Regions from separate parts of the Homo sapiens genome. Here region 2 is linked to region 1. Evidence: promoter capture Hi-C in 16 types of primary human blood cells and fetal thymus (Javierre and others, 2016). All regions are on one chromosome and are shown on one strand. Each heading gives the region's core, a stretch centred on a gene start or on the middle of the fragment in contact. The rest is flanking DNA. Distances are from core to core; before and after follow the strand shown. Region 1 overlaps LOC124901363 (a long non-coding RNA gene). Region 2 holds the start of PM20D2 (peptidase M20 domain containing 2).

What was found. Contacts are between HindIII fragments. The CHiCAGO score rates a contact against its expected background, and 5 or more counts as called.
Region 2: the fragment with the promoter of PM20D2 here is called in contact with a fragment that was not itself captured in region 1 in 6 of 17 cell types (activated CD4 T cells, naive CD8 T cells, non-activated CD4 T cells and 3 more); the score reaches 10.4 in activated CD4 T cells.

What each region holds. Positions count from the first base shown.
Region 1 is chr6:90,588,598-90,592,150 of GRCh38, forward strand. LOC124901363 (a long non-coding RNA gene) reads left to right here. Exons shown (of 2, transcript XR_007059680.1): 2 at 2,051-2,362. Among named protein-coding and RNA genes, the nearest start is that of MAP3K7, 3.3 kb to the left of the region's middle. The HindIII fragment of the contact is 5,597 bases long and covers 1-3,553 here.
Region 2 is chr6:89,144,505-89,148,057 of GRCh38, forward strand. PM20D2 (peptidase M20 domain containing 2) reads left to right here and starts at 1,551. Exons shown (of 7, transcript NM_001010853.3): 1 at 1,551-2,105. The coding sequence starts at 1,641. LOC101929004 (a long non-coding RNA gene) reads right to left here and starts at 2,362. Exons shown (of 4, transcript XR_942766.4): 1 at 1,189-2,362. RefSeq lists a silencer at 1,368-2,297. The HindIII fragment of the contact is 3,355 bases long and covers 610-3,553 here.

The DNA.
Region 1 (3,553 bases), core at 455-2,954:
TACCTTGTGCTATAACTCTGCAGGTCTATATCCGATTTCCTTTTAACACCTTGATCTTGCTGCCAGGTGGGAACTCAATAAATACTTAGATATTCTGTACAAATGAATAGCTTTTGTCAGTCCTCCCTTTCCCTGGAGTGTAAGATATGTTTCCTGTACCTTCAGTTTAGGACTGGAATCTTGACAAAGGACTAATTAATTACCACAGCCATGATGCAGTTCTCCTGCTTGATTTTTCCCCCCAAAATTTTGTTACAAAAATGTCAAATATAGAGAAAAGTTGAAAGAATTTATGGTGAACACCTATATGCCCACCACCAGGATTCTACCTTTAACATTTTACTATACTTGCTTTATCATAATATACATATGTGCATCTCATCTCTCCATCCATATTTACATCCATCTACCATTTTGCTAGATGCATTTCAAAGTGAATTGATTACATGATTTTGAATATCTTCTACCCCAACACTTCTATGTTTTATCCACTGATTTGGACTTCTAATATTGATGCCAGTCTAAAATCAATTTTTGTCCAACTTGCTTGCAGATTACTTTTTTCTTTTTTGTCTGCCTGCGCCTTTTCCCTAGCTTCTAGTAATAGATGGAAAGTTTCATCAGTGTTTATGTCTCTGGGTTCAGTCATTCCCAAGGTCCAATCCATCTCTTACATTCTGTGATTTGGTTATGTGAGCTAGTAAATTACCATTTCATTTAAGCTGGTCCAAGTTGTATTTTTGTCACTTGTAACCAAATAATCCTAAGTAATAAAGTTTAAATGCAGAGGAATGATGGAGGGGAGCTGAACCTCTCTCAGTTCACTTCAATTTTGACTTTGCATTTCCTTTAACTTTCATGAATTAAGGATAGAAACTTGACCTCAGAATTTCATGTCAACTTCAGTCACCAGTCTGTGTGTCTCCACACGTTTCCGGATACATATCAAAACTATTTAAGTAAATTCCTTGAAGTCCCTCCGAGTTTGAGCACCCTCCACCATTCTCCCTCATGTCAGCACCCTAATAACTACTCTCTAACTTCCAACTCTGTCTTCAATTTTGGCCCTTTTATACTCTCCAGGGGTTGAGAGGACAAGGGTTTCAAAATCCATTTCCCACCACCTCTTTGCTTGTTCTAAATGAGATTCTGATCTTATTTGGCTCATTTTGGGTGTAGGGATATCTGGGACCTATTTTAATGGAGGCTTAGCAGAAACTGGGACTAAAGTAACACCACTTTAATGTTCTGGGTCATATATATGTCAGACAAGTGTTCCATATTTCCATCATAGGCTTGATGATAACATCAATAATTGAGTTTCCATTATTCTCTTCTGCCTTTTGTGGTATTTGCTATATTCTACAATAGTGTTTTTCAATCTTTTTTTTCATTATTGTTCTTTTAAGGAGCCTTTTTAGACATCTTAATGCCCCTCCTCAAAGTTTTAATACCTCAGATACACTGTATATCTATTTATGTATTGTATGTATATTTGTGCTTTCTATGTAAAAAGAGTAAGATTTTTTCTCTCTCCAGTTTTTGCCCCCTGTGGAGGTGTTATTGCCTCCATTGAGAATGCATGTACTAGCAGTTTCATTTTTCACATGACACATCACAAAGTACAACCGAGAGCATCTCTTGGTAGCCATCTCAGAAGAGCAGTTAAACATTCTTTTTCAAAAGCCCTTGGTAAGTTTACCCTTGAGGGATGGGGAACAGGATGCTTGAGGATACACACAGTCATGCGCTGCATAACGATTTTTTGGTCAATGGACCTCATATGTGACAGTGGTCCTATATGATTATAATGAAGCTGAAAAAATCCTATTGGCTAGTGACATTGTAGCCATAGTAATGTCATAGCATGACACATTACTTATAGTGCATTACTCGTGTTTGTGGTGATACTGGTGTAAACAAACTTATGCTGCTAGTCATACAAAAGTATAATACAATTATGTGCAGTGCATAATATTGATAATGATAAACAACTATGTTACTGGTTTATATAATTACTATACTATACTTTTTAATTGTTATTTTACAGTGTACTCCTACTTCCATAAAAAAACTATAAAACAGCCTCAGGCAGGTCCTTCAGGAGGTATTCCAGAAGAAGGCATTGTTATCATAAGAGATGACTGCTCCGTGCGTGTTATTGCCCCTGAAGACTTTCTGGTGGGACAAGATGTGGAGGTGGAAGATAGTGATGTTGATGATCCTGACCCTGTGTAGGTAGACCTAGGCCAACATATGTTTGTCTTACTTTTTAGCCAAAACGTTTAAAAACTATAAAAAAATAAATAAACAGAAAAAAGTGTATAGAATAAGGATCCAAATAAAATACTTTTGTACAGCTGTTCAGTGTGTTTGTGTTTTAAAGCTAAGTGTTATTACAAAAGAGTCAAAAAGTTTTAAAAAATTTAAAAGTTTATGAAGTAAAAGAGTTATAATAAGCTAAGGTTAATTTATTGTTGAAGAAAACTTTTAAAAAATAAATTTAGTGTAACCCAAGAGTACAGTGTTTATAAAGTCTACAGTAGTGTACAGTAATGTTCTAGGCCTTCGCATTCACTCACCAGTCACTCACTGGCTCACCCAGAGTAACTTCCAGTCTTGCAAACTCCATTTATGGTGAGTGCCCTATATAGGTGTACCATTTTTTTAAATCTTTTATATTGTTTCGTTACTGTACCTTTTCTATGTTTAGATACACAAATACCATTGTGTTACATTTGCCTGCAGTATTCAGTATAGTAACATGGTTTATACAGCTTGTAGCCTAGGAACAGGTATAGCTGTTATATACCTAGGTATACCATATAGCCTAGGTGTATAGTAGGCTATGTCATCTTGTAATGATATAAGTATATAATGTTTGTATAAGTACACTCTATGATGTTCACATAATGGTGGAATTGCCGATCAACACACTTCTCAAAACTTATCCCTGTAGTTAAGCAATGCATGACTGTACGTTGTTTAACTTAGATTGAGGGCTCCTGGAAACATGGGCTCTAAGGAGGAGGAGGAGATGCTAACCCGAAGGAAAATCTTAATACTCTTAGGAACAGCAAAGCAGGCAATGGTTGATGGGTGGTGGGTATGCAACCAGCAAATGCTCATTATTCATATGTTTATTCAGATTGAGCTCTGTGATGGTTAATTTTGTGTCAACTTGATTTGGCTAAGGTATACCCAGCTAGCTGGCAAAACATTATATCTGGGTGTGTCGGCGAGGGTGTACTTGGAAGAGATTAGCATTTGATTAAGTAGGCTGAGTAAAGAAGATCTGACCTCACCAATGTAGGGAGTCATCATCCCATTGTTGAGAGCCCAACAGGACAAAAAGGTAAAGGAAGGATGATTCACTCTCTCTTCTTGAGCTGGGACATCTATTTCCTCTGTACTCAGACATCAGAGATCCTGGGTCTTGGCCTTTGGACTTCAGGACTTACACCAGTCCTCCCCTTAGGCCTTTAGAGCCGGTCTGAGAGTTACACTCTTGGCTCCCCTGGTTCTCAGGTCTTGGACTGGATTACACCACTGG
Region 2 (3,553 bases), core at 301-2,800, 1.4 Mb before region 1:
TGACTCTGGCTTCTGTTCTACAGTGGGTCCACTACTTACTAGCTCTATAATCTTGGACATACATCTGTAAAATGAAGATAAATAACCACATTAACCACCTCATAGTTTGCTGTGAGGATTAAATGAGTTAACAAATGCTAAGCCCTTGGAACAGTGCCTAGCACAGAGTAATTGCTCTACAAATGTCACCTATTGCTTTTGCTCTCCAATCCCCCCTTCTCCCCTTTTTTTAGCCAACTAACTGAGCAGGATAATATTGGATCTCGTGGATACAGGGTAATTTTCTTCAGCAGAATACCAGAGAAAGATTTATTATCGCCAAGGGGGCCCAGGAATTTAATAACACATTTGTTGTTTTTAGAGCTGAGTTTTTGTTGGAGTGTTAACTGAGAAAGAAAGTTTTCAGACGTGAATGGAATGTGACATTTACTCTGGTATTATTAGCATATAGAGTAGTAAAAACAGTAGTTGATAGTCTTCGTGCATGTTAGCTTCCCTTAGACTTATTTTCAAAATATTCATTTGGTTTATCACATTAATATATTGTGTCCCATTTAACATAGTTGAGACAAATTAAGGAAAGATGATAGGGTATGAAGAGCTGATAGAAGCTTTTAATATGTGGAAAACCTCAGAATATAAACATCTACAGTGTTATTAATAGGCATACCGTCAACAACAGTTTTTCAGACTTTGTGGTTCACTCTGGAGAAAAACAAGAGCATGACATCTTGAATTTCTTCACTGGGTAATTAAAAAACTCAGTTATAATGTAACACCAGCTGCACATATCATGTTAGTGGAGTTCAGCATCAATTAAAATTATAAACGAAACCTGTCATATGTTCCCTTTCAAAGCTGTTCAAGACAACTGTCCAAATCAACAAAACAGTATGAATATTTACTACCATAAATCTTTTAACTCTTTGGTTTTAACTCATTTCAAATTTTTAGTTCTACTCTATTCAAATAAATTATTATATAATAGCTAATACATACCAAGAGCTTACTGCATAATCTAGCTGCTGTTCCAGACATTAGTAACCAATGAGAAAACTGTAGAGAGTAGCTGCAGCTTTTAGTAATACAATGTCAAGGAGAAGAAAGTGGGGGCAGTACCGAAACTTACGTACAGTACCGTCGTTAGTACAGCATTGACACTGACGGCCTCCTTCAGGAAATACAAACCTTGTGAGGTTTTAATTACTAATGCTACAGAGTGGCGTTTTTCCGAGGACTGTGTTCCACTTGGTCTGTCTCTGATGGCTATTAACTAATAACCGTTCTCATTCTGCTGCTGTGGGAAATAAGCAACAACGGAAAAGTAATCGATAATCTTAGAGCATAACTCAAAGGCCAGAGCAGCCAAGGAGGTGGAAGAGTCCCGAGCCCTGCCTTCTCCACAGCACCCCCAAAACCCCACGGCGGGGCAGAGCGCCTGGTAGGGTACGAGCGGCCGCCAGCGTTTCCCGCGCGGCGCCGGGGGCGGCCCCGGGACTGGGGGTGGTGCCCTGGGAGCTGTGTGGCCGCGTGCGCGCTCCGCCGGGGTCCTGGAGGCCTCTGGGCGCGTGCGCGGGCGGTCGCTACCTGCGGCCGAGCCAGGGAGCGAGAGGGCGCAGAGGGCAGCGGGCTTGGGCAGCATGAGGCCCGGAGGGGAGCGGCCCGTGGAAGGGGGCGCGTGCAATGGCCGCTCCGAGCTGGAGCTACTGAAGCTGCGCTCGGCGGAGTGCATCGACGAGGCGGCCGAGCGGCTGGGGGCCCTGAGCCGCGCGATCTGGAGCCAGCCCGAGCTGGCCTACGAGGAGCACCATGCCCACCGCGTGCTGACGCACTTCTTCGAGCGGGAGCCGCCCGCGGCCTCCTGGGCAGTGCAGCCGCACTACCAGCTGCCCACGGCCTTCCGCGCCGAGTGGGAGCCGCCGGAGGCCCGGGCACCGAGCGCCACGCCACGCCCGCTGCACCTGGGCTTCCTCTGCGAGTACGACGCGCTGCCCGGCATCGGCCACGCCTGCGGCCACAACCTCATCGCTGAGGTCGGGGCGGCGGCCGCGCTGGGCGTGAGGGGGGCCTTAGAGGGCCTCCCCAGGCCGCCTCCGCCCGTGAAGGTGAGGTGGGGCCCGGGTGCGGGACCCTATCCGACTGCCCGGGTCGGGGGCGACCCGGGAAGGGCGGGACTCTCGTGCGTCCCGCGCGCCTCGGTGCCCTCCCGCCCGGGGCAGGTGTGTGTGGGACCGCGCTAAACCTGCGGTCCTCGCCTCGGCGCAGGAGCAGAGCTGAACCCCCAGTCAAAGTCAGTTCGCGTTGCCGACCTGGCGACATCTTGCAGATTATTGTTTCCTCCTCTCTAGTTATAAACAGCTCTGCTGAGTTGTTCCCTTAGGAAAGAACTTACACCCAAGCCTGGTGTTTGTTACGGGTTATTTTTGGTAACTGAGAGAGGCAACAGCAATTTGCTGACAAGGTTGTGCCATCAATCTCAGGAGGAAATAACTTCTTGTAGGTAATCCTACGGCCCCTTTTTATTCGTCTCCAAATAAATCTTTTGTTTGTGGCAGTCCTAGAAAATGTGATTCAAGTCATTGGTATTTGGATAGGAATTTTCAGTCGCTAGAACCACCAGACCCCTAGAAGTATACAAATAAAGGGGAAGTGAATGAGCATTATACATAGATGAGTTCATCCTTAAGTCTTAATTTTTTTGTTTTATGATTTTAAGAAATACCTCGACTCTTTAAACAGGGAAATGTCGTTTATGTTTGTCGTAGGGCAAGTTTAATCCTGTTTTACTCTGCTTTTCCAGATGGTATATTCTACACTATGAGCTAAGATTCAATCGTCATTCAGTTAAGGGGAAAACAAATGTTTTATTTTCATACTCTTTAGTTCATTTCCCCCAGTGTCAGTAACCTTCCTCTTTTATCCTAACACTACATCTTTTGTGGCTTTTTCACTTTAGCTGCCTTCTTTTTTCTGTCTCTGGAGGCTCGTTTTTGCATTTGTTAGGTTTTTGTTTGGGTTGGGGGAAGCATGCTTTGCCATGTCACAAACACTGGAGAGATTTCGCTTCAACCACGTTTTTAAAGGTTCTGAGTAGTCAGCGAGAGACATATCGTATTTAATGAGTTAAGGGTCAAGAATGAAGAGCGGTGGGCAGATCAGTTGAGGTCTGGAGTTCGAGACCCGCCTGGCCAACATGGTGAAACCTCTGTCTCTACTAAAATATATTAAAAAAAAAAAAATTAGCTGGGCGTGGTGGCTCACGCCTGTAATCCCAGCTACTCGGGAGGCTGAGGCAGGAGAATCGCTTGAACCCAGGAGGCAGAGGTTGCAGTGAGCCGACATCGCGCCACTGCACTCCATCCTGGGCAACAGAGCGAGGCCTCCTCTTAAAAAAAAAAAGAGCGGCGGCTTCATGTCAGAGTTTGAGCACTGTAGAACCGCCAAAAAAAAGCTAAACTTTGAGAAATGTACACTCTTTTTTTTTTTTTTTTTTTTTTGAGACAGTCTCATTCTGTCGCCCAGGCCGAGTGCAGTGGTCCTATCTCGGCTCACT